Linked DNA regions of Homo sapiens: all the other regions are linked to region 4. Evidence: promoter capture Hi-C in 16 types of primary human blood cells and fetal thymus (Javierre and others, 2016). All regions are on one chromosome and are shown on one strand. Each heading gives the region's core, a stretch centred on a gene start or on the middle of the fragment in contact. The rest is flanking DNA. Distances are from core to core; before and after follow the strand shown. Region 1 has its middle 17 kb from the start of GEMIN8. Region 2 has its middle 36 kb from the start of GEMIN8. Region 3 has its middle 69 kb from the start of GEMIN8. Region 4 holds the start of ASB9 (ankyrin repeat and SOCS box containing 9). Region 5 has its middle 52 kb from the start of GEMIN8. Region 6 holds the start of GEMIN8 (gem nuclear organelle associated protein 8).

Region 1 (4,341 bases), core at 1,220-3,719, 1.2 Mb before region 4:
CTAAATGTATGTAATCAATTTAATATGCATGATTGATAAGACCCATAGAAATAAAATACTAGTTGAATCCTTTACAGCAGTGGTTCTTAGCTTTGAATTCATATTGGAAACACTTGAACAGCTTTTAAAAATCCCAAACCCAGGTCACATTCCAGACCAATTAAACTAGAATCTCTTGGGGATGAGGCCCAGATATCCGTACTTTTAAAGCTCACTAGATAGTTCTAATATGTAGCCAACTTTGAGAAATACTACTTTATAGAACATCTCTGCTTACTCTTAGTTAAGTTTAAGTATTTCAGGGACTCTTTCTTTAACAATCATTAACAGTCTTTTTCTTAAACAGTCTTTAGGGACTGTTTCTGTTTCTTTTTCTTTAAATGGAAGCAAATCATTCCAAAATAATAGTTTATTTGTTTTATTTTATTCCTATCTGTTTTTTTTTGCTCTTGTTTCATTTTGTTTTATTTTTGCCAAGTTGATCAATATAGCATAATGGCATATGGAGTCAGGTCATTCTCAGTTTGAATGCAGATTGGGCTATTTACCAGTTGTCATAGATTGGCAATGTATTTAATCTCTAAGCAAGTTTCCCCCTGCCCCATCTATAGCAGTATTTCTCAACTGGAGGCAATTTTTTCCCACCAGGAGACATTTGTCAATGTTGGAGATGTTTTTGATTGTTACTGCTGGGGAGTTGTTTTTGACATCTACTGGGTAGAGGCCAGGGATGCTGCTCAACATCCTACAATGCACAGGACAGAGCCATAGCAAAGAATTATCTGGCTCCAAAAGTCACTAGTGCTGAGGTAAAGGAACCCTGATCTACAGAGTGAGGCTCTAGAGTCTGACTGCATTCAAAGTCTTATTTCTCTACTTCCTAACTGTGTAATCTTGAGCAATTTACTGAATGTATTCTTGCCTGAATCCCATGTGAAAATGCAGATATTATTAGCACCCACTTTGGAGTTGATGGGAGGTTTAAATGGGATAATGCATTTGGAGCATTAATACAGTGCAAATTATTACCACAATATGTGTCTTTCTGTTCTGGGGCATTTATGGCCTTTTGTCAGTATCCCTGAGATAATTTGTTTGATATATCTCTTGATAATCTGAGTTCATATTCCGTGGTTCAGTGGGAGAAGAGAAAAAGGGGTTGGAGGCTGGAGTTGTCTTTGAACATGTACATGCTTTCAATTTTAAGTGGGAATTCAGAGGAGATAGTTACACAGCACACTGTTAAATTCCTTCTCCCACTTTTCACTTTCCTCCCCCAGCTCACCACTAGCTTGACAATTGTATTGGGTTGGAGTATTCAAATAAAAAGCTTGTATTCAGCCAAATAAAAGTCAAAGAGATTCTTTTAAGTACAGGTTCTAAGGGAAAGTGCTTAACAGCAATGAGCACAGTTTATTTATTTATTATTTTATTATTATTTTTGAAAGCTCTAGGGTACACGTGCATGATGTGCAGATTTGTTACATAGGTAAACATGTGCCATGGTGGTTTGCTGTACCTATCAACCCATCACCTAGATATTAAGCCCAGCATGCATTAGCTCTTTTCCCTAATGCTCTCGGCCCCATGCCCCGACAGGCCCCAGTGTATTGTTCTCCTCCCTGTGTCCATGTGTCCTCATTGTTCAGCTCCCACTTATAAGTGAGAATATGTGGTGCTTGGTTTTCTGATTAACACGGTTTATTTGTAAACTTTATATTTATTATTAACAAGAAGCAGATAGCAACAGGAGTTTGAAATTCGGGGAAAAAAAAGCTCTGTGTTGGAAATAGAAATCTGGGACTTACTACTACAGAAGGAGTCAAAGTTATGGGAAAGAATGAGATTTCAAGGGAGACTGTAGGGAGAAGAGAGAAGAGGGCTCAGGATGTAATGTGAGAAATAAAGCTCAGCTAATAGTTAGTGCAAACCTACTGTGTGCTTGCCGGTCACCTTTCTAATCTATTATACTACATTTGGCTTTTAGGGAGAGTCACCTCCTATTCACAGTCCTCATCCCCAAGTGTTCTGAATCTGGCTTGAAACTAATAAATGAATCTTTACTGAAGACAATATGGAATGCTCACAAAATTAGGTAGAAAATTCCTATGTCGATTGCTGTCCATGAATCAGATTCATTTTTAATTTTTGTCATTATAATTATATAATCATATCACACAATTTGAATTTTTCTCTATGCATATGCTTTCCTGTACTCATAGTGTGCACAAAACTATGCATGTTTTTATAACAACTTTATTGAGGTATAACTCACATACCATATAGTTCACCAATTTAAAATACACAATTCAATAGTTTTTAGTATGGCTTCAAAATGTCTCTTCAAATGGCTATATCATAATTTGCTAGGTCTTTCTTCTATGTGGGGATATTTAAGTTGTTTCTAATTTTTTACCACTATAAGTAGATTTTTCTGCATGTAGATTTTAAAATATTTGGATTATTTTATTTTTAAAACTTTTTATTCTTTAATTGATACATTATAATTGTACATATTTGTGATGTACAATTTGATGCTTTGATATATGTACAGATTGTATAATGTTCAAAGCAGGGTAGCTAGCATATCTATCACCCCATGCATATATCATTTCTTTGTGGTGAGAACATTAAAAAATCTCTCTTCTAATTTGTAATATACAATACTTTGCCATTGACCATAGTCACCCTACTGTGTAATACAACACCAGAACTTATCCCTGTTGCCTAATTTTAACTTTGTACACACTGACCAACCTCTCCTCATCCTGCCCTTCCCCATTCCCTCCCCAGTTTCTGATATAAACACTGTTCTTCTCTCTACTTCTATGAGATCACTTTTTCTTAGATTCCACATAACAGTGAGATCATGTGGTATTTGTCATTCTGTGTCTGGCTCATTTCATGTATTAATATGATATCCTCCAGGTTTGTCCATTTTGTCTCAAATGACAGAATATCACTCTTTTTAATGGCTGAATACTATTCTATTGTGTAGATATATCACATTTTCCTTATCCATTCATCTGTTTTTGGACATTTAGGTTGATTCCAAGTCTTGGCTGTTATGGATAGTGCTGCAGTAAACATGGGAGTGCAGATATCTCTTTGATGTACTGATTTCATTTCCTTTGGATATATATCCAGTAGTGGGATTGCTGGATTATACAGTAGTTCTATTTCTAACTTTTTGAGGAGCCACCATACTGTTTTCCATAATGACTCTACTAATTTACATTCCCACCAGCACTGTGTAAGGGTTCCCTTTTCTCCATATCCTTGCCAAGAGTGGTTTTCTTTCATCTTTTTGAAAATAGCCATTCTAATTAGAGTGAGGTCACATTTCATTGTGGTTTTCATTTGCATTTCCCTGATGATTAGTGATGCTGAGCATTTTTTCATATACCTGTTGGTCATTTGTATGTTTTCTTTTGAGAAATGTCTGTTAAGGTCTTTTGCCCATTTAAAAATCAGATTATGTTTTTGTTTGCTGTTGTTTAAGTTCCTTATATATTGTGGACATTAGCCCCTTGTGAGATGTATAGTTTGCAAATATTTTCTCCCATTCTATAGGTTGTCTCTTCACTCTGTTGTTTCTGTTGCTGTGGAAAAGCTTCTTAGTTTGACAAACATACAAAAATCAGTAGCATTTCTGTATGCTGATAGTAAATGATTTGAAAAAGAAATCAAGAAAACAATTATATTTAGCATAGTTATAAAATGTACATAGGAATAAACTTAACTGAAGAGGTGAAAGATTTCTACATCAAAAGTATAAAACACTGAAAGAAATTGAAGATGACACAAATAAATGAAAAGATAGCTCATGTTTATGGATGGGAAAAATTGATATTGTTAAAATGGTCTTACCACCCAAAGCAATCTACAGATTTAATATAATCCCTATCAAAATACCAATGATCTTTTTCACAGAAATAGAACAAAATGATCCAAAAATTCATGGGAAACCACGAAAGACCCCCAAATAGCCAAAGCAATCTTAAGCAAAAAGAACAAAGCTGGAGGCATCACACTACCTGACTTCAAAATATACTACAAAGCTGTGGTAACCAAAACAGCATGGTACTGGCATAAAAATAAACACATGGACAAATGAAACACAACAGAAAGTCCAGAAATAAATCCATGCACTTATGACCAAACTGATTTTTGATAATGGTGACAAGAACACACACTGGGGAAAGAATAGTCTCTTCAAAAGATGGTACTAGAAAAGCTGGATATCCACATGCAGAAGGATGAGACTAGATCCCTACCTCTTTTACCATACACAAAAATTAACTCAAAATGGATTAAAGACTTACATGTAAAACCAGAAAC
Region 2 (4,467 bases), core at 403-2,902, 1.2 Mb before region 4:
GGGAGGCAAAGGAAAGTCTAGTAGAGTGGAATGGAAAGGCAGAGCCAACCTTTGGGTATGGGTGCCTGTGAATTCATAAACCAGTTCCTGAGATTGTTCCTAATTGAAATATGCAACTTACCTCTCTTCCTCCCAGTGGCATGGAAAGGTAGACATCATTATCCCCATTGCTCAGATGAGAGTGCCAAGCGGCACGCACAGTAACAGGATTTGAATCCAATTCAGATCTGACTTGAAAGCCAATGTACTTTTCTCTACTTCCTCAGATCACACATTCTAGTGTGTATATATTTCTGATTCTGTAAGTCTAAGCTGGGTCCAGGCATCTGCTTTTGGTGATTCTCATACTGGTTGTACAGTGGATGTCACTTTGAGTAACTCCTGTTTTGGCAGTGCATTAAATTTGATGTGGCCTCTGATTAAAATGGGCCATTATCCTTAAGTGGAAAAGAGCAAGAAACATTCCAGTGTATACAGTATGGATATAAAAAGAAAATAAAAAGGATTCATATTTGCTTGGGCATGCAGAGAAAATCTTTGGAGGAAAAACAAGAAACATGAGAAAGACATTGGGTAGGTATGGGCATGCTGAGAGAAGACGTTTTGCTGTATGCCCTTTTGTAACTTTGAATTTTGAACCTTGGAAATTTAGCATGTATTCAAAAATTAAAAAGTATCTACATAATACCTATACAGATGTAAATGGTTAAACATTTTTTTTTTGCCTTGGACTATCTGTCTACCGTACCCCATGACCCTTCTGTTTCAAGGTGCTACTGCCAAGAAGCCAGATTTGGGGCATATCATGTGGACATTGTGGACAAATATCCCATAGAAATTAATGGGAATTAGTTGGAGTCAAAATAATACTATCATATTAAATTTCTTTACCTAATGGATTAAATTGGCCTTTTGATTGTCTTGCCCTTGAATCCTATTTCTATGGGATTATATGTTCTAAGTTTGCTAAAATATAGACTTATTAAATGAACATAACTAAAACTTTTGTAAGTAGTCATCATTTAGGTAAAATATACCTATGACTCAATTTAAAAAGCATTTTGTTCAGCATTTTCACCTTCATGTGGGAACAGCTGCTAACTTTTGGTGTTGAAAAGGGAAAAGTCAGGCTTTGACTTCAAAGGAGAAAAATGACATTGTCGATGATGACAGGAGTGAAGGGTGTTAAGACATAATTCCATAATTCAAGCAAACTCTTGCGAATCAAAGACATTCTTTGATGATCCAATTGCCTCCTTAAGAGAGGCCTTTCCCCACCTTCTGTTCTCTCTAGGATAGCTAGTATTATCCATCTGAATAAAACGTGGCTTTTTAAGAGAATGACAGAGTGCACTGTGCCTTTGCATTCAGTGTATTGTTTTTGATGGTGTTTCTTTCACTTACTCCATTAGAGCAAAATAAATGATTCTGCTCCTTGGTGTCACATATGGTCATGTCTAAGTGAGGACTTTATGCTTATCTTAATATTTTGGCTTAAAGGCAGCAAATGAAGTCTTCAGCTTCTTTAAATCCTAGCTAGGGAGCACTCTGACTGTCTGAATAACACTGAAAGAAGAACCTTAATGACTGGCAATTCCTTATCTGAAGCGCCTTGCTAACCCAAGATGAGTCACACCACTCCCTCAATGCAAACATTCAGCTCTGTAAATTACGACTGCTCTCTTACGTTTGCGCTATTCATTCCAAGCGAATCATCGATTGCTGTGCTGCACACGGAGGAAGACACGGGCTGCCTCATGGGATGAAACGTTCAGCGCCATGCCTGGTACACGACAGCGCTGAATAAATGATACGATTATCTAAAAGCAGCGAAAGAAAAGTCTGTCTGAAGTCAGGTTCCCCGGCAGCAGACGCTGACAGGAGAATCTAAGAGCCCGTGAGTTTCTCAGGAAGTGAGGGCAGGAGAACAGGCCAGGGAAGTCCCTGCCTCAGCCTGATCCTTGGGGAGCTCTGGAGGATCAATGAAGGCTCAGAGCCTCTAGGCCAGGGAGCTAGGCCTCCATATTCCTACGGTCACTGCTGGCTGCAGTTGGCTTTTGGAGGAAGTGAGCTCCCAGGCATTTCTGCTCCCTGGACGAGAGGATGAAGTGGCTACAGAAGTCGAGGGACAGTGCTGGGACCCGGCAATGGAAGCACGGGTCCTAGAAAGGGAATCTGAAAGGGGCAGGCCGTGTGACGACAGTATCTACTTCTAGGTCAAGGAAGGGCCGACTTCAGGGGCCTGCAGCCACCGCAGCAGCACAGGGCCCTGCCTTTCGAAGAACCCCGCACTTGGGATTCAAGCCTCTGCAGTTGCCATCTTGAAGCCTGCAGCGTTATCTCTTGCAATGTGTTTTGTAAGCGAAGGTGGGGGGAGACGACGGAGCATGGGGGTGGGCAGGGGCAGCCCTACCTCCCAGTCCCTGGTGTCCGCGCCTACCTGCCCTGCCCATCGGCCACCCTCTGCTTGGGGCACTAGCACGTGGGCGTGCAGAGGGCTGGGTTGAGTGCAGGCCCCGCGATGTCTCGCGGGTGAGGCGTGGCTGCCGTCATCACGGACCTTGGCCCGTCAGGAGGGGTGGGACGCCCACCCATCAGTAGCCCTGGGCCTGAGGGGGTCCTGGCCTCTGGCTTTTCATGCCTTGAGGGGGTTGCTCTTCAGCAGTGGGTGGCTATGACGGTCGACTGGGAAGGGGAGATGGATCCCCGCCAGAAGGACACTTGAGACACTGCCAACCTAGACGCCCCCCATCCCTACCCACGCCCTGGAGCCTGAGAGGGGCTGTAACTCACCTTATTCATTACCCTGTGCCTGAACCTGGCGTGAAATAGCAAATAAAAGTTACCACCACGGATTGAGAGAAACAGTGAAGAAGGGAAAAAAAAGTTTCATATTATAATAACGTTAAGTGCACTTTTTCCTGTCTCACCCCCGCCGCCCGCCCCCCCCCCCCCGCCCACACCAGCAAGGAGCCTCATTTTTATTTTGCACTGAGCTCTGCAAATTGTATAGCCAGCCCTGGGTCAAGATGAGATATATAGATATGTGTATATATATATATATATATATATTTTTTTTTTTTTTTTCTTGGAGTCTTGCTCTGTTGCCCAGGTTGGAGTGCAGTGGTGCGATCTCCGCTCACTGCAACCTCTGCCTCTTGGGTTCAAGCGACTGTCCTGCCTCAGCCTCCTGAGTAGCTGGGATTACAGGCATGCGCTACTACTGCCTGCTAATTTTTGTATTTTTAGTAGAGATGGGGTCTTACCATGTTGGCCAGGCTGTTCTCGAACTCCTGACCTCAAGTGATCCGCCTGCCTCAGCCCCTCAAAGTGCTGGGATTACAGCCGTGAGCCACCGCGCCCGGCCAAGATGAGATAATTTTAAATAGAGAGATTGCTATAGCAGGTCAGAGCATGAGGAAACATTTTAATGCTCACATCAGGAAAAGTAATAATGATAATAAAATTTTAAGAAGAATTACCATTTTTAAGCTCTTCCCTGCCACTCACTGTACACATTGCCTTATTTATCTCTTTTAAGCTTAGCAAAGACCCTGCAAGCCATAGATGACAAAACTGACACTCAGAAAGTCGTGCCATTTGTGCCATAAAGAATGCAATCATGTCTTTTGCTGCAACATGGATGGAACTAGAGGCCATTATCTTAAGTAAAACAACTCGGAAATAGAAAGTCAAATACTGCATCTTCTGTCTTATAAGTGGGAGCTAAATAATGTGTACACAGGACATAGAGTGTGGAATAATAGACATTGGAGACTGAACCGTGAGAAGAATGGGAGGGAGGTGAGAGATGAGAAATTACTTAATGGGTACAATGTATATTATTTGGGTGATGGTTACACTAAAAGCCTAGACTTCACCATTAGGCAATATATCCTTGTAACAAAATTGCACTTGTACCCCTTATATTTATACAAAAAAACAGAAAGTTGTGACATTTGCTCAAATTCATAAACCTGGTAAGTAGAGACTGAAACCAGGCTCTGATTGACTACATGCTGAGTTCTTAACTTCTAAGCCAGCGCTGTCCAATAGAAATACGATGTGAACTACATCTGTAATTTTAAATTTTCTAGTAGCCACATTAAAAACTAAAGACAAACAGGTGAACTTAATTTTAATAATATATTTTACTTAACCCAATATATTTAAAATATTATTTCAAAATATAATCAATATAAACATTTTCAAGATCTCTTACATTTTTTTCATACCGAATCCTCAAAACTCAGTGTGTATTTTACACTCAATGCACATCTTGATTTGGATGCTAAATTTTTATTGAACATACTTAGCTCATATTTAGATTTCATTAAAATTACAGTTGAAAAAGGAGATTCACATGTTTGAGGCACACTTATAATTTTTCTGGTAACTGAATTGAGCATTTATTTTTATATTTAAATTTAAATTTAAATGGAATAAAATTAAAAATTCAGTTCCTCA
Region 3 (4,443 bases), core at 1,590-4,089, 1.2 Mb before region 4:
CTTTCTGCACAAAACAGCTGAATTCAACTTGATTTACAGATAGGTTTAGTTTTTTCTTATAGTTATACAGTTTGATTTTATATTAAAAAGTACATATTTTGAAATGTGTCTTTGTTAACACATATAAATCTGGTTCCCTTTTTTTGGAGGGGGGCAGGATACATGTGCAGAACGTGCAGGTTTGTTACATAGGTATACACGTGCCACGGTGGTTTGCTGCACCCGTCAACCCATCATCTACATTAGGTATTTCTCCTAATGCTATCCCTCCCCTAGCCCCCCACCCCCCGACAGGCCCCGGTGTGTGATGTTCCCCTCCCTGTGTCCATGTGTTCTCATTGTTCAACTCCCAGGAATCTCCCACTTACTGAAAAGAAACAGAGACCTTGAGGAGATAGTTCATTTTCAAAGTGAACGCTAAGGCAGAAAAATGAGCCTAAAGTCCTGCGAAAAGGTGCGGGGTGCTGAAGAATATTCTAACATCTGAGTTAATAAGACTTAATAAGGGATCAGTTTGAAAGTGAGCTATCTCCTCAAGGTCTCTCTTTCTCTTCAGTAAGTGGAAGATTCCTCAAGGATTCATAGCTGTTATGATGCCAAGCTGTTAAAGTTTTTCCTTAAAATCCAGACATTCAGCTCCAGGCTTTGCAAGTGACAACCCTTAGTGAGGTGAGAGAGTGCCATTCTACTGAGTCGCTTGGTGCCCTTCCTTTTAGGTGCTACAGGTGTACTCCCTCTGCCTTGAGGGATCTGCAGGCATTACCCCTAGCTAGCAGTCCTTTCCCACACACCAATGTGTGTAGAACAACTGCAACAGTCTATCCTTTTGTTTGCTTAAATTTCAATACTATAACTTAGGGTCTTATGATTAACTACTAAAGTAAGTTTTAAAAACCACTAAAAGATATTAAACTTTTGAAAGACATATTTTATTGTAACTTGTTTGAGCCCATGGTACCTGGATTCTACCTAGATTGATGGATGATGACGAACTGCAGGGAACAAATGAAGGGGCCCTACTGTTAACTCTGTATTCACAATAGGCTTGCCACTTCCCCCAGAACTTCCAGGAGCTTCGCTCTGTTTTCTGAAGTGATACTAACTGCCATATCCTGTTTTTTCCTCATGGAAAAAAGTTAACAAGGGCCCGCACATTTTTTTTTTTTTTTTGAGACAGAGTCTTGCTCTGTCACCCAGGCTGGAGTGCAGTGGCGTGATCTCGGCTCACTGCAACCTCTGCCTCCCAGGTTCAAGCGATTCTTCTGCCTCAGCCTCTTCAGTATCTGGAACTACAGGGGCATGCCACCATGCCTGGCTAATTTTTTTTTTTTTTGTATTTTTAGTAGAGACGGGGTTTCGCCGTATTGGCAACACTGGTCTCGAACTCCTGACCTCGTGATCCACCTGTCTTGGCCTCCCAAAGTGCAGGGATTATAGGCATGAGCCACCGTGCCTGGCCTGCACTCTTTAACATGCTAAAGAGGTACTTCATGGTTTATTGCATTAGTTATCTATTGCTGTGTAACAAATGATCCTGAAACTTAGCAGCTGAAAACAACAGACATTTGTTCTTTCACATGGTTCTGAATATTAGGAATCCAGTTGTGGCTTAGCTGGGTGGATCTGGCTTAGAGTCTCTCACAAGATTGCAGTTAAGCTATTGGCCAGGGCTGCTTTCTTCTCAAGGTTTGACTGGGGCTGTAGAATCTGCTTCTATGCTTACTCATGTAGTTCCTTGCTGACTGTTGATTATGTGGACCTCTACTTAGGGCTGTTCAAAACATGGCAGCTTGCTTTTCTGAGTGAGTGTTGTAAAAGAGAGGAAAGTGAGAAAGTGGCCAAGATAGATGCCATAGTTGTTATAACCTAATCTCGAGAGTGCCACACCATCAATTCTGTTGTATGCTGTTGGTCACACAGACTGACCCTGGTACAATTGGGAGGGGACTACACAAGGGTGTGAATACCAGGAGGTAGGGATCATTGATTGCCATCTTGGAGGCTGGTTATTACACAGTTTCTTGTCTGGCCAGTCCTCTTTTCCAGGACCCCACACTCTCTGGCCTTTTTGTTTCTTTAATGTGCCATGCTCACCCTAGCCACAGTGCCTTAATACATATGGTGCCATCTGCCCATGAAACTCCATTCCCTTCCTCACCTGCTTAGTTGCTGCTCCCCATCAGCTCTCAGCTCAACCATCTATTTCCCGGAGAAACCTTCTCTGACTCTTTCTCCATATTCTTCCTTTGCTTTTAACATTGTTGTAATTTTACATTGGCTGTTTATTTCATTAGTGTTTTTCTCTACTTACTCTCTGGGTTGTAAACTCCAAGTTTACATTAGTTTTTGCCTATGAATATATTCCTGGCTCAGTGGCTGATGCAAGATAGACGTGATGAATGGATAAATGAAGAAATGAAGAAAGTCAAGGTCAGCATATGGAGAAGGTATGTGAGAGGGAGTCCAGGTGTGTAAAGATAATGAGTGTGTGAGCTGAAATTATATGAGGGGAGGAAGTGGCTATTTTTCCTTCCTCCAACGTTCTCTATTCCTCTCCTTTTATCTATACTCCCCACCTGCTCTTCCTTTTCTCCTCCATGTCTCTTTCTTTTGCTTGTCTATCCCAGTTTGTCCTGTCTCTCATCTTCTCACTGATAGTAATTGGAGAAGGGGAATCACATGTTGGAACAAGAGAATGAGATATGAAGTGAGCTGCACAATAGCAGTAAATGTTTTTTATAACATAGTCCTGGGCAAGTACAGGAAGCTGAGGCAAAAGTCTTCAGCTGTTGCAGAAGTGAGGTAATTGGGACAGAGCATCCCGGTGTGTTCATTCAATCATATACTCATTTTACTCACATTCAGCAAGAAGATTTTACCTATTGGAGAATGGGCTGGGTGTTGGGGATATAAAGACTTCAGGTTGCAGGATTCCTGTCGTCAAGGAGCTCACTGACATCAAGGCGCTCACTGTCTAGCACCTGGGTACTCAAAGTGTGATCATCAATGCAGCATCAATGTCATCTGGGAGGTTGTTGGAACTGTAGGCTTGTAGGCCCCACCCAGATGTACTGAATCAGGATTTTTTTTTTTTTGAGACAGGGTCTCGCCCTGTCACCCAGTCTTGAGTGCAGTGGCATGATCACAGCTCACTGCAGCCTCAAAAACCTGGGCTCAAGCAGTCCTCCTGCCTCAGCCTCCTGAGTATCTGGGACTAAAGGGTGCATGCCACCATGCCTGGCTAATTATTATTCTTTTTTGTAGAGATGGAGTTTTGCTATGTTTCCCAGGCTGGTCTCAAACTTCTGGGCTTAAGTGATCTTCCTCCTTCGGCCTCCCAAAGTGTTGCAATTGCAGGCATGAGCCACTGTGCCTGGCCCAGGATTTTCATTTCAACCAGAAGCCCAGGTGATCTTTGTGTTCATTAAAGTTTAGGAAGTAGCTGGCTAGAAAACATAGGCAAGTGAAAAGCTGAGGACAACAGGTAAAGAAGTGTCAGGTCAGTCATAAACACGGGGTGCTGGAGGATCACATTGTAACACCATCTGACCCTTGTCTGCCGATGGCAGTTGATGGTGGCAGGGAGGGCAGGAAATTGCAAGGGAACAAGAATTTGAAAAGGGAAGGGTTCCATAGGGAGGAGTGGCATGCAGAGAAAGTAGAATATACAAAGGCCTGTTGGTGCTCAGAAGCATGGCCCTCTCAATTAGGTGCAAGTTATTCAACCTGGATAGAACTAGAATCTGAGGTGAGAAGTGACAAGAGATGAGGTTCAACACATGGATGGAAATAGATCACAAGGAGTTCACCATGTCCTCCTAACAAGGCCCAGCATTATTTTCACTTTATTTTTTTTCTTCCAACTTTTATTTTAGGCTTAGGGGGTACATGTGCAGGTTTGTTACATGGGTAAATTGTGTGTCACTGGGGTTTGTATACCAAATGATTTCATCACCCCGGTAGTGAGTATAGTACCTGATAGGTCCTTACCCTCCTCCCACTCTCTACCTTCAAGTAAGCTGTGATGTATATTGTTCCTATCTTTGTGTCTGTATGTCTTTAATGTTTAGCTCCCACTTATAAGTGAGAACATGATATATTTGTTTTTCTGTTCCCGTGTTAATTCACTTAGGATAAGGGCTTCCAGCAGCATCCATGTTGCTGCAAAGGACATAGTTTTGACATTATTTAAAGCACTGGAGGGTCATTGATTATTCTAGTTTGTATTGATGGAAGGTCATTCTTAAAGGAACAGGAGCAGAGCTAATGATACTATAATAATATTTATTGAGGACGTATTATATACCAGGTGCTGTGCCAAACATGTAAAATGCTTTGTGTAACCCTCCAACAAACCTATGAGGAAGATACTATGATAACTTCTAGGGGTTCAAAGGATGGTATTGCTACCCATTATGCACATGGAGGGCACAGGGAAAAAGT
Region 4 (4,599 bases), core at 1,200-3,699:
TCAGGAGGCTGAGGCAGGAAAGTCGCTTGAACACGGGAAGGTGGAGTTTGCAGTGAGCTGAGATTGCTCCACTGCATTCCAGCCTGGGTGACAGAGTGAAACTCCACTTCAAAAAAAACAAAAAAAAAAAAAAAAAAAGAAATTCTTTGTGAAAAGTGATTTTTGATGCCACTCTTGCTTTCCTAGTTCTCCAAACTCATGCTCAATACATCTGCTGATTAATCCAGTTCTGCCTTTGTGGATCTAAATCCCACTCACCATTGAGTACTCTGCTCATTTTATAAGTGAAATTGGATAAATGAATGAATGAATGAGCAGGCTAGTCTACTCAGTCAAAGGGAAGACGTTTTGTGTTTTATTTCTTCCATTTTTACCTTTTTGGTACCTGTATAGTAGATTAATAAACCCTGACTGACGGCCGGGCGTGGTGGCTCACACCTGTAATCCCAGCACTTTGGGAGGCCCAGGCGGGCAGATCACCTGAGGTCAGGAGTTCTAGACCAGCCTGGCCAACGTGGTGAAACCCCGTCTCTACTAAAAATACAAAAATTAGCCGGGTGTGGTGGCGGGCGCTTATAATCCCAGCTACTCGGGAGGCTGAGGCAGGAGAATCTCTTGAACCCGGGAGGCAGAGGTTGCAGTGAGCGGAGATCTCGCCATTGCACTCCAGCCCAGGCGACAGAATGAGACTCCGTCTCAAAAAAACAAAACAAAACAAAACACCCTGACTTCAGGGTCCCTGTTTATTGCCCCTTTGATCAACAGGTGCTGTGGACAGTATACCAGGTATATATTTTTTTCTTTTTTCTTTGATACGGAGTCTCACTCTGTCGCCAGGCTGGAGTGCTGTGGCGAGATCTAGGTGCACTGCAACCTCCGCCTCCCGGGTTCAAGTGATTCTCCTGCCTCAGCCTCCCGAGTAGCTGGGATTACAGGCACGTGCCATCACACCCAGCTAATTTTTGTATTTTAGGTAGCGACGGAATTTCATCATGTTGGCCAGGATGGTATCCTGACATCGTGATCTGCCCGCCTCGGCCTCCGAAAGTACTGGGATTACAGGCGTAAACCACCGTGCCCCGCCTATATATACAGGCCTGAACCCGGGAGGCGGAGGTTGCAGTGAGTCGAGATCGCGCCACTGCACTCCAGCCTGGGCCACAGAGCAAGACTCCGTCTCAAAAAGAAAAAAAAATTAATAAATAATAAATACAGCAATTCAGCAGGGCTGCTGCAACACCAGCTTTCCCAGCTCTGGGTGCTGGGGCTTGTCTCCGTCACAAGCCCCCAAGGATCTCAACAGGGTGAACAACAGTTGCAGAAAGTGAGCTGTTGCCTTCACCCTCACCCTGCTGCTCCCTTTGCTCTCCGAAAGTTACGAACTTTGAGTTTCCTTCCCGATAAACTCCAAGGTTTCCTCACTGATTGGTCTCAGTTTGGGAAAGGACGTGACATCAGCAAGTTTGCAGACTTGGGGCTGGAGAGTTAACCAGTATATTACTAACCAATATACTATTATTTATAAGAACCTGTGTGCAAATGCCTAAACCCATTTTTCAGAATCCTTTCAGCCAACAGGCACCTGCTGAATGCTCACCGAAGTGTGTATTTGTGGGATTCTGTACATTAGCACAGACACCACTTGACAGATGAGAACAATACCTGTAAGATGATTCTCCAATGTTTTAAGTAAAACAAAGTCTCTTTTGTCTCTTTTGAAAGTGACTCAATCAGTGCTCAATGTTTGAACATCTTTATAAACCCTGCCCCACCTAAATGCCAAACACCTAAGACTTACAAATTAAAAAGTTTTAGCATTAAAAATTTTCCTATTTATAAGTAACTTTCAAACCTCCAATTTAATAAATAATGCATTTGACCCACAAAGAATGATTCCTGGGAGCTGAAATTTTCACTGGAGAATAATTTGTGACAATTGAATTTGTCTTGTCTGTAGGATTCTGCAGAAAGAAGTATACACATTTTTGAACAGCTGTGTAAAGAATATATACCAGTGAGCTGTGGACATCTGCCCAGTAACAGCCCCATGGACACCTCACACAGAGCCACTGAAACTGCCCAACCCTCCTCTCCTAAGCACATTAGCCAACCTCCCCAGGGCTGATTCCACTGCCCCTATGACTCACCGCCCATCAATGGGTTTGAAAGAAGCCTGATGCCAGGAAAGTCCCTTGGCCCCGCGGGCTTGCTCCCATCCATGCCCCCTTGTTTGCCATCCATGATGCTCTCTCCTAAGCGAGCAAGCTCTGCGCTCCACTTCAGTTGCTCAGCAAAGTCCAAACTCCATGCTCCCCCTGCTCCTGAAAAATTCCAGTTCTGTGGCTGGCTGAGCTGCACACGTTCTGGTCAAATGGTCTGCAGCAAAGCACAGAGCAGGCAGGGTAATCTGAGTGCTACCTGTGATCAGAGAGAGGCATGCGCTCGTGTACACACACACACACACACACACACACACACGTTTTACCTAACTGGCTGGAGGCCCGCCAGAGGCCACAAGAACCCTCCAGCCCTAAGTCTGCGAAGTTGCTGATGTCACGTCCTTTCCCAAACTGAGACCAATCAGTGAGGAAGCCTTGGAGTTTATCAGGAAGGAAACTCAGTTTGTAACTTTTGAGAGTGAAGGGAGCAGGGTGGGGGTGAAGGAAACAGCTCACTTTCTGCAACTGTTGTTCACCCTGCTGAGATCCGTTTGTTACATGGTAGCTTGTTATGGAGACAAGCCCGAGCACCCAGAGCTGAGAAAGCTGGTTTTGCAGCAGCCCTGCTGAATTGCTTGCACAGTAACATGCACAGCACGCCCTGGCCATCTGTACATGTGCTTTCAATTGTGCTGGGAGTTTCTTATGGGAAATGTGTCTATATGTTACAAAAAATGTACCTTTGGAAAGAACCATTTGTTCCTTTCAGCTGCAAGAATTTCACTAAATGTCCTACCTCACCCCTCCTCCACTCATTTTAACTTCTAAATAAATAATGAACGGTTGCAATTGGAAAAATGGATTGCTAGGTGGCCTGAGATGTGGAAGAGACCTGCTATCTTTTCATTGTGAATTACTAAAATTTATTTTGTTAACGTTTTGCTGTTTTTGCTTATACAAAACATTAGGGGCCGGGCGCGGTGGCTCATGCCTGTAATCCCGGCACTTTGGGAGGCCAAGGCGGGCGGATCACGAGGTCAGGAGTTTGAGACCAGCCTGACTAACATAGTGAAACCCCGTCTCTACTAAAAATACAAAAAAATTAGCTGGGCCTGGTGGCAGGCGCCTGTAATCCCAGCTACTCGGGATGCTGAGGCAGGAGAATCGCTTGAACCCAGGAGGCAGAGGTTGCAGTGAGCCGAGATCATGCCACTGCACTCTAGCCCAGGCGACAGTGCGAGACTCCACCTCAAAAAAAAAAAAATTTGGATGTACTGTGTCCATGTCTTTTCAGATAAACCCAGTTGCCTCACACCCCTGGGTGCTACTTCAGGCTGACAGGCACCTCTAGACTCCCACCATTCCTCTCTTCCAGGTAGAAGAGGATTTTTCATCCCCATGGGGGAAGGCTCTGAGTTAAGTCTCAAGCATAGACTGGCTGTGAAGTGATTGCAGATTTGTCTTAATGCCAAAGATGAGGCCTAGATGTTTTAGATTTACGGAGTCTCAGTTAAAACATTTGGTGGCTGTTATTAACAGTTTGAGGGGTGTAATTCACGTTTTTAAAGGCATTTATATGCATACACATGTATGCACATTTATCAATTTACATTTTCCACATAAATGTACCTATATTATTCTTTTTTTTTTGAGACAGGGTCTCACTTTGTCACCTGGACTCGAGTGCCATGGTGTCATATCGGCTCACTGCAACTTTCACCTCCTGAGCTCAAGCAATTCTCCTGCCTCAGCCTCCTGAGTACCTGGGATTACAGGAGCGCACCACTGTGCCCAGCTAATTTTAGTATTTTTAGTAGAAACAGGGTTTCACCATGTTGGCCAGGCTGGCCTCAAACTCCTGATCTCACGTGATCCCCCTTCCTTGGCCTCCCAAAGTGCTAGGATTACAGGCGTGAGCCACCGCACCCGGCCCCTATATTATTCTATTATTCTATGCTTTTTACACTTATTTTGTCTGTGAGAGCTTTCCATATCAGCTTTTATAGGTATGCTCCTGTCTTTATTCACTGTTGCATAGCATTCCATATTGTGCCAGAAGTATTTAATTATGCTCCTAATGATGCAAGCAGAATGTCATTATTTCTGTTAGTACTATGAAAGGACTAAAGTTCATATTTTTGTACATGTGGCTTTGTGCACATAGGCAAATATTTCTAGAGGAGAGATTCCTAAGAGTGGAAATGCTAAGTCAAAGGCATACTTATGCACATGTAATAAATTGTATAAAACTGAAGACACACACAGGAATGAGTACAAGTAAAACCGGGGAATTGAATAAGATCAGTAGATTGTATGAATGTTGATTTCCCAGTTACAATATTGTACTATAGTTTTGCAAAAAGTCACCATTGAGGGAAACTGGGCAAAGTGCACTGGAGATCTCTATGTGATTTCTTACAACTGCATGTGAATCTGTAAT
Region 5 (5,003 bases), core at 873-3,372, 1.2 Mb before region 4:
CTTTGCATATAGCATATTAGTATACACTTCCTATTTTGTTTTCTGTTCTATCTCTAAAAGCATATCAAATTATATATGCAATTTTGAAAGATTTCTCTTGAACTTAATATGCTAGCATGAGCGTTTGCAATACTGTGAAATGTTCTTTGAAATATCTTTTATATAGACTGAAATTATTCTTTGTATGGATATATCATATTCCTCTGGAAGGATGTACCATAGCTTATTTAACTACTTCTATGTTTTTAGACATTTAGGTGAAATGTCTTTAGTCTTTTTTAAAATGAATTTTTGACCAGGTTGCTGATTTTTCCCCTAATAATAGATCCCCAAAATGGTTTTATATTAGAAGTAAACACACACATGCACACACGCATATAACATACTTAATAGCTTCAAAACCAACAGAGAAGGAACTTTTCAACAAATGATTATATGAAAGCTTGCCACAGCCAGTCTAGGGCTGGTTAGTTAGCAATGCTCCCAGGTACTTCTGGGAAATTTCCCTCATTCTAGTTGCACAGAACTATGACCAGAACAGTACTTAGACCAGGCTGATCTGGCAGACTGCAGACATTGGGCATGATGAATGGGGTTTGTGTTCATGCCTGAGTGTTCTGTATTATTCTTTGCTCAGTAACCAAATGTAAATCATATGACTCCAAGATAGATGAGGGGTATCCTGGCTGGGATGAGGCACTTACTGGTACATATCTAGACTGGCCCTCTTGCTGAACTGGTCTTGTCTATGCGTGTAGGAACAAGGCACAAGACATGTCTAAAACATCAGTTTCTAACTTGTAAGAAATGGATAACAAATTTAATTCACAATATTACTTCAAGCTATAAAATATCTACATTATATCAGATAGTAAGAGTAAGGAACTTAACATTTTGTTGAAGGACATGAAACAATACCTAAATAAATGAAGAAACACACCATGTACTGTTGGGAAGACTTAGAATACTGACATTCATTAATTATTAAATAATGACATTATTATATAAATGTCATTATTTGCCAAGCATATGTAAACGCAAAATAATTCCTATCAGAATCCAAATGAAGACATTTTTAGAATGAGAAAAATTATAGGCAGAAGAAATGATAGTTGCCAAAAAAATTTATGTTTCAGAAGAATAATTGGGGTAAGGATCTTGTGTTATCAGATAAAACTTATAATAATTCTATGGTAATGAAAACAAAATGTCAATGGCATAAGAAATAATAACCAGGACAATGGGACATAGAACCTCAGCACATATCCAATAATATAGAAGTTAATCTTGGAAAATCTGGCACTATAATTCAATAGGAAAATAAATAATTATGTTGGTATAATTTTGCTATCCATTTGGAAGGAAACTAATATAAATGCCTACCTTATACCATTTATAAAAATATATACCTGGTGAATTAATATAGCTCAATGTGAAATCAAATCTTTATGAATATTAGAAGAAAATTTAGAAAAATATTTGTTTCTGTAAACTTGTGGGTGAGTAGAGATTAGGAATCAAGTTGGGAAACTTAGAGGGAATCAAGAAAACGATCAATAGATGTACAAACTTAAAAATGTTTCTTAATGCAAGAATGTATAATAAAACAACGAGAAGACAAATGAACTGGGCCAAATATGTGCAGTCATATGACAGGTAAAACGTTAATACCTTCAATTTACAAGGAACCTGCACAAATACATTGGAAAAATGACACAATAAAAAAGAATGTTCATATTTATAGAAAAATGCAAATGGTTAATAAATGAAAGGTGGCTTAATCTCCTTAATATTCAAGGGAATGTGGATTTGAGAAACAACCTTAACTTGTCCAATTGCAAAACCTAAAAGATTGGTAACATTCAGTATTAGTAACAATTTGCGGAAACAGACATTTGTGTATTGCTGATGGGAAGGTGAATGAAAAAACCTTTATGGAAAGTTATCTTTTAATATTTGTCAAAATTTTAAAAATGGATATGTCTTTGATCTAGCAACCCAGCTTTGGGAATGTATCCTATTAAATTAAACATACCATAACGTAAGGTATATGTATATCCAGGCAGCTTTTTCTTGTAGCTGTAAACTTGGAGACAACTTGAATGTTTCACAATAGAAAAATGGCCGTTTTCATTGTGCAAATTCTTAGTGTGAATTATTACTAGAAAAATTATGTATATTGACCTGGAGAGATGGAGTGATATATTACCAAGTAAGGGGAGAAAACTGTCTTCAGGGGAAGATGTAGAGTATAAGTTTTGTAGAAAAAAATAGGCCCTCTTTCCCACATACATGTGTTTGTATGCCAGCATGGTGAGAGATGTAGCAGAATATGCCTTAAATTATTATTGGATTCCTCGGAGGTTTGACTAAATTAGAGGGTAAATTATCTGTGTCAGGAATTTAGCACTGTGTCTATTACAGTCAACATTTTAAACAAAATATGTCATAATTGTGCTTTAAATACCAATTTATAAACATTTATTATAAAATAATATAAAATAGCATTAAATTTTTAAAAAGAGAAAAAACCTGATTATATCAATTTTTGAGTACTTCCCTATGTCTTTCTCTGTATATATACACATGCATTTGCATCACATATGTATATATATATCTTTATTTACTTAACTGTGCATTTTTCATGGTATTTCAAAATCTCTTGTATTATATATTTCTTTAGTATGATAGTTTTTAATGGCCAAATGGTATTTAAATTGAAATATTGTGACTTTTTTCAACTATTCTTCTGTTAGGCATACGTTATTTTTAGTTTTCTTCTACTTTGATTATTGATGCATAAACACCTTTATGCTTACTATTTGTTTTCTGCTGATTAATTTAAAAATATACTCCTTAGTGTATAATTACTGTTCAAAATATATAGGAATGTTTATTGGTCTTGTTACACACTGCCTTAGCTATAACATTTTGCATCAGCTATTTGAATTGAGATTCACTGTAATCCTTTTCTACCTGTGGGCAAACTTTCTAAAGGCAGATCCGAAAATAATTTGCAAAGTGCTGCTTTTCACTCTGTTTTACTGATAACCCATCATAACGACACATGTTACCACTTGTTTATCACAACTAGAAAATTTAAATATACCAAAGTGCCTGTATAGCGGGAAGGATCTTTTAAGATGAGTTTGACAGAATTATTGAAAATAATAACAGTAATTTACGTTTATCTGGTACTCTTCCTCAACAGGATGATTCCATTTTCTTTTTTAGTATAATGGACTGATACATGTTTTCTTATGCTGTTTTGCTACTACCTTTTCTGTACACATCATTTAAGGAACAGTTCTCACTTGCCTGAGTTACAATAGCTTATCTCTCAGTGGAAATTTGAGAAAACAACTAGAGCTTCTGTCATCGACATTCTCATTAATCCCATTTTCTATGTTTCTGATGTATCCCTCTATAGTAGGCTCTCTTTGGTATTTAGGGGGAGATTCCACAAACACCTGCAAGTTTTCAGATTCCCCTCACATCTCTTCTCTATTGACACCCCTGGGATTGAGGATTCAGGTACTGTACTCTGATGTTTTTGTCTGTTATAGATACTCAATTTCACCCATGATGTTTTTGTCTGTTATAGATACTTAATTTTACCCGTGGGTCATGAATCCGCATTGCTTGGCTGTTTTCTATTGCCTTTGGGGCTTATTGAGTAAGTGTTGACCTTGTTCTTATCTCAAGATAGAATTCCTACCATGGATATCTAATAGTACTACAGATATTTTCACTCCCACTTTTTAAGCAATCGTAGCCCACCCAGTCAAAACATTTTGTATTTTTAAGCTTCGTTGGTCATGAACTACCAAACAAGTTGGTCAGGAGCTTTACTGATCATTTTCATTTAATTATGCCATATTTTTAGGAAGAAGTGGCCATAGGCTTTTATGTTTTACTTCTCAAACAACATCAAAATATCATCAGTGTATTACCTGCCACACTCCCTCCCCCTTTTCTGATAGAGAACATAAGACACTTGTGGTGGTAAAGACATCTGTTTTACACTCAAATAACAGATGGTACCGTTTGAACTCAACAGAAGTAGAGGAGAAATGGAATGTAAACTTACTCGCACAATTAGAAACTATTTAACTGATGTTTTGCATATTTGGATTTTGCAGATTGCTTCGTAAGTGATATACCTTAAATTGAAATGCTCTAAGACATTTATCATTTCAATTTCTGCTAATTTATTTTTCTACACTAAAGGCAAGTTTCTGTTCTTTAATCATTAGCTATCTTCCTTCCCCTCACCATACAACCTCTTCAGTAATTGGCAATGGAATTGGTATTATGGAAGCAAGTTAAACAGATGTAGCTCCTACCTCTGTGACTTACATTCTAAAAGTAGCATTTCACAGGACTACCACAGTTGAACAAAAATAAAAAACACAAGGAACAATGTCATAAAAAATGTTTTACCAGCTGTTCCTACCACACCTCTGTTTTCTTTTTTCTTTTTAGTGAACTATAATTATATGCAGTAAAATGTTCTAGTCTTATGTGTACAATTTGGTAAGTTTTGACAATAAGTACACCTACATAACCAACACTCCAGTCAAGATATAGAATCTTCCATCACTCCAGAAAGTTTCTTTGTAACCCTTCTAAATTAATTCTCCTCTCTGCCAGGCAAACACTATTCTGATTTCTATCACCATAGATTAATTTTGTCTGTTCTAGAACTTCATATTCATGGAATCATTGGGCATATACTCCTTGGTGTCTGATTTCTTTCACTCAGTATAATAAGATTCACCCATGTTGTTGCATGCATTAATAGTTCATCTTTTTTGCTGAGTAGTATTTCATAGTGTAGATATAGATATACCATAATTTGTTTTCCATTCTCCTATTGATGGGCAACTGGTGTGTTTGTGGTTTTTGGCTATTATGAATAAAGCCGCAATAAACACTCTTAATTGAGAGTTTCTGAGGGCATATGTTTTTGTTTGTTCAGTGCCTGGGCATTGCTGGATCAC
Region 6 (4,310 bases), core at 1,053-3,552, 1.2 Mb before region 4:
GTAATAAGTACTGTCACAAAGAAGGCATAGCATGGGGAAGGAGTAAGGCTGAAAGGATGCAGTTAACAATTCTTTTTTTCATACAAATGACATTCCACCCACAGAAGGGCATTGTTTAATTTGTCAGCAAGTGTGATGAATTTGTGAATGGGTTTATTTGCAAGTTCTCTGAATCCCCTTGTGACTAATATCAGAATCAAAAGTGAAATATGAGGCCAGGAACAAAGTTACCCTCTGACTCAGGAACACAACAAGCAATGGGATGACTGAGAATGACATAATGATAACATAGTTCAAAAGAGGAAACAGATAAGTTTGTTTCACAGCAAGCATGTCCTTCATAAGCAAAACCTAGTGTGACCATAAGGTAATAAGGGTTGAATAGGCAGGTTCTGCAAATTAAGAGCATAACAGCAAAAACCATGGCTAGTTTAAAGTAGTTAAGATCGCTAGTACATTTCAGGCGTCTTATTTCAAATTTACTTTTTTCTATAAACATATTCACGGTAATTCCATGTTAATCTCTCTTTTCTGAATTTATAGGCACTCACTATGCCTCATTTACTTGGGCACTTACTCAGTTACCTGTAGGCATGGATTCTACAATCTACTCCTTTTAAGTTTCCTATTTTCCTTCCAGCATAAAAATAATAGCTAATATTTCATGCTCTTAGATGCTGCTGAAATTGTTGAGCTTGTCTGTTGTTTCCTGATAACGTTCTCTCCTCCTGCATCTACTCCCCAAAATCTCTGAGGACCTAGTAACTCAAAAAACTGACTATAAAGCACCAAATCTTTTCAGGAAGCAAATATTTAAATACATTATGTTTTCAAAGATCTTTTCAATTCATCTGATATTTGATCAACTACATTCTTTTTTCACTTGTCCAGCTGTTCCGTGGCTGAATTTCCTCTTGTAGAGAAGTTGTTCAAAAAAAGTTCTGTACCTACTTTGCAAACTCTCCAATTTACACTCTAGCCTTAACTGTTCAAAACTTTCCCCCGTCATTCTCATCTCACCCTATCCTTTAAAAAAAAACCCAAAATGATTAATCACCATCTATAGAACAGTTTCAGAATGAACATTTCTCTCTGGAACTTTAGTTTGTATACTTCCCCAGCACAGCAATGAACACACAGAGGGGATTTATACACCTGTGAACTTGCTTTCAGTTATGCTTATTCCAAGTTACTAACCAGCAGTCTTTAAAAATATATGGTTTCTGTTCACATTGAAATTACAAAGAGACTGTTATTCCGATAAATTATGCTAGCAAAAATAGTATTTTTAAAGGGTAGCTCTCATCCTACAATTCATGGGGGCTGTGAGCATAAATAATCCTAGAAGTGTTGCGTTACTAATCTTTAGTCTAGATTTTTTAAGTAATATTGTTCTGATTTGAGATGAAGAACAGCTGAATACACAGCCTAGCCTGTCAAACGAGTTTAAAAACATCATTCCTGAAAAAAATAAAATTGTTCAGAACCATCTGATCTGTACTAAGGGAACATCAAGATTTCAGAGCTAAAATGCACTTCGTTGGCCACTGGTTCAATTACAGCTCATTACTGATAAGTGGGCAGAGACACAAGGCCCATAAACTGTAGGCGCCAGATGTCTCAAGATAACTCCCACCAAAAGCTGACCTCCTGCAGAGGTTAAAGTGCAAGAGAAAAGAAAGAAACCCGAATTTTTGAGCAGAGAGGGCAATATCCTAGACATCCTTCAAGTATGTGGCTGTCCTGGGCGATCTTCTATTCAGATACTGGACTGGATGGGCAAAATCCGAATTCACCTACAGACCTTAACACGGTGGTTCTCGGCACCCCAGAATCACCTGGGCAGCTTTAAAAACTACCGATGCCAGGGCCCCACTATTAGAGATTCTGATTTCATTGGTCCGGGATGGGGGCCCGGGGATCAGAATTCTTAAAGAGTCGTCCAGTGATTCGGAAGCACTGCAGAGCTGAGAGCCTCTGGGACTGGTCCCCTCTCACAATTAACCTGCAATGATTTAGGAATCTCATGGGCCTCCGGCCCCACCTTTTGTCGCGGGATTAAGATAATTATGAGAGCAACGTGACGTCCAAGACCTCGGCTCTCTGCGCATCAGAAGAAGCCAGGGCCCGGGGCGTCTAAGCTCCTCCCTCACTCCCCAAAGGAAACCCAGCCGTCCCCGAAGTCACCTCGTGGGCGCGCAGCTTGCGGATCCTGGGCGTTGGCCGCGCAGGGGCCTAGTTTTCCTTGGAGAGACAGAGGGGGAGTGGGGGACGCGAGGGAGGCGGCTGTTGCCGGGGCGACTGGAAGCGCGCTTCCGGTGCGGAACACGTGGCGTGGCGCGGCGCGCCGGAAGTCCCCCCCTGTGTCGCGGACGTCACGTTCGCACCGCAGGCGGTGCAGTGCTGGAGGCCGGAAGCTGCCTGCTAATCGGCTACCCCGAGTGGAGCGCCGGGGCGGCAGGCGTGGGATGGCTGCGGGTGGCGGGGCCGGCGGAGAGGGAGCTGCACCGGGCGGGGCACTGGGACTGTGGCGGGCACCCGCGCCGGGGGTCGGACGGTGCTTCTGCACCGGCGAGATAAGGGTCGCTTCTGCACCGCCCGGGTTTCCAGCCTTTAACTTTTTGTCCTTTCCTCAGCTTTCTTCGTTTTCCTTCCCTTGTCTTTACTTAGCCTTTTCTTTCTTCCTTTCTGTTTTCTTTCTTAACTAAAACAGTTTTAGTTTCTTAATTTGTCCCAGCGTAAAACACCCAGTCTTTGAAAATAGATTAACCCAGATCTCAGTTTGAGTGCGAGTCCAGTGCTAAGTTTGTAACTTCCCCAAGCCTCGTGTGTCTCATCTATAAGATATGCATAACCTAATGCAGAGTGCCTGATGCATTGCAGCAGACAAAACATTAGTACTAATATGTTTGTAATTATAACCATCACAGCAATACCTGCCCTGTTAACATTACAAGAGTCATTAACAAGAACCAAGCATAAACAATTAGAAGTCTTACGTGACATATCATTTCTGGGGCAATTACCATATTTAATACTTTCTGGGAATTTATTCCAAGGAAAAACAGGTACGAACCAGATAGATGTTTATTACAGAATTATTTTAAAAAGTGAAAATTGGAAAAGACCTAAATGCCCAACAAGGAAATGGCTAAGTCAATTGGGTGGTATTAATGACGTGACATTACTGTATTATTCCTGGACTACAGAAGAATTAAAATGGTATAGAAGAATATTAACTTTAACAAATATTTACTGGATGCCGGCTATGTGCCAAGTATTCTATGTTAGCGCTGTCCATTGTAACCACTACATGTGGCCCTGAGAACCTGAATTGTAGTAGTCTGAACTGAGATACACTGTAAGGGTAAATTACACTCTAGATTTTGAAGAAGAATGAGAAAAAGAATGTAAAATACCTCAATTTCTTTATAGTGATAACATCTTAGAGAAGGACTATTGAGGTTAAAGACTAAAATTTGATCTTTATCTTTTTACTTTATTAGTGTGGCTACTAGAACATTTAAAATTATATATGTGGCATGCATTGCATTTCTATTGTACCGTGGTATTCTATTTACCGGATACACAGTAGTAAACAATACAGTTTTGGGGCTCATAAAATTAAATCTTTTGTGTAGAACATAGACAATAAGCAGATAAATAGAATTGTATGTTGTGGTGAGTTATATGAAGACAGTATAGCAGGGTAAGGGCCAGAAAGTATGTGTATATAGAGGGGGATTATTTTAGAAAAGATTATTCCTCCACCTCAGAAAATGGATGTGGGAGGAAATGAGATATCTATGGATAGAAGCAGGAGATGGTAGGAGGGTGAAGTCTTATGGGAAAAGTCAGGTGTGGATTGAGACAGATAAGTCAGATGGGGCCTGGTGCAATCTCTACCTCAAGGAAGAAGCCAGCATCTAGAGAGGCAGGAAAGAAAGATGGAGAGGGGTAAGATAGGGAGAAAGAGCTTAGGGGGTTCCTGGGAAAGGCAGAAGGATGCAGGCCTAGAGTGGATATAGTTCAGGTAGAGTGATTCCTGGTTCTATGAATGAAAAAATACAATATATATGGTATACTATGGCATTAGATAGAATATTAGTTGGCTGCTGTCACAGAGACCCAGAAGAGGAGTGGCTCAAACTGTTGAGAAGTGTATTTCTATCTCATGGCAGTCTGGGTGTAAGGAGTCCAGAGTATGGCAGCTCCACCTGTCTCATAGCTCCACCCTCCCTGGTTTCTTGCCTTGGCCCACATGGTCCAAGATGGTGCACCACTGCACCTTTCAGCCAGTGGGAAAGAGA

Evidence for each region. Contacts are between HindIII fragments. The CHiCAGO score rates a contact against its expected background, and 5 or more counts as called.
Region 1: a contact is called between a fragment that was not itself captured here and the fragment with the promoter of ASB9 in region 4, in 2 of 17 cell types (naive B cells and non-activated CD4 T cells). The highest score is 6.2, in naive B cells.
Region 2: a fragment that was not itself captured here is called in contact with the fragment with the promoter of ASB9 in region 4 in 1 of 17 cell types (total B cells); the score reaches 5.9 in total B cells.
Region 3: a contact is called between a fragment that was not itself captured here and the fragment with the promoter of ASB9 in region 4, in 2 of 17 cell types (non-activated CD4 T cells and total CD4 T cells). The highest score is 5.3, in non-activated CD4 T cells.
Region 5: a contact is called between a fragment that was not itself captured here and the fragment with the promoter of ASB9 in region 4, in 1 of 17 cell types (non-activated CD4 T cells). The highest score is 5.9, in non-activated CD4 T cells.
Region 6: the fragment with the promoter of GEMIN8 here is called in contact with the fragment with the promoter of ASB9 in region 4 in 1 of 17 cell types (endothelial precursors); the score reaches 5.6 in endothelial precursors.

The regions. Positions count from the first base shown.
Region 1 is chrX:14,044,746-14,049,086 of GRCh38, forward strand. No RefSeq gene overlaps it. Among named protein-coding and RNA genes, the nearest start is that of GEMIN8, 17 kb to the left of the region's middle. The HindIII fragment of the contact is 2,283 bases long and covers 1,329-3,611 here.
Region 2 is chrX:14,063,455-14,067,921 of GRCh38, forward strand. No RefSeq gene overlaps it. Among named protein-coding and RNA genes, the nearest start is that of GEMIN8, 36 kb to the left of the region's middle. The HindIII fragment of the contact is 3,773 bases long and covers 1-3,539 here.
Region 3 is chrX:14,097,067-14,101,509 of GRCh38, forward strand. No RefSeq gene overlaps it. Among named protein-coding and RNA genes, the nearest start is that of GEMIN8, 69 kb to the left of the region's middle. The HindIII fragment of the contact is 7,329 bases long and covers 1-4,443 here.
Region 4 is chrX:15,267,634-15,272,232 of GRCh38, forward strand. It overlaps ASB9 (ankyrin repeat and SOCS box containing 9), which reads right to left and starts at 2,450. Exons shown (of 7, transcript NM_001031739.3): 1 at 2,148-2,450. The coding sequence starts at 2,241. The HindIII fragment of the contact is 7,265 bases long and covers 1-4,599 here.
Region 5 is chrX:14,079,537-14,084,539 of GRCh38, forward strand. No RefSeq gene overlaps it. Among named protein-coding and RNA genes, the nearest start is that of GEMIN8, 52 kb to the left of the region's middle. The HindIII fragment of the contact is 3,365 bases long and covers 441-3,805 here.
Region 6 is chrX:14,027,590-14,031,899 of GRCh38, forward strand. GEMIN8 (gem nuclear organelle associated protein 8) reads right to left here and starts at 2,303. Exons shown (of 5, transcript NM_001042479.2): 1 at 2,188-2,303. RefSeq lists enhancers at 1,892-2,392, 2,393-2,893 and silencers at 2,270-2,469, 2,504-2,643. The HindIII fragment of the contact is 15,884 bases long and covers 1-4,310 here.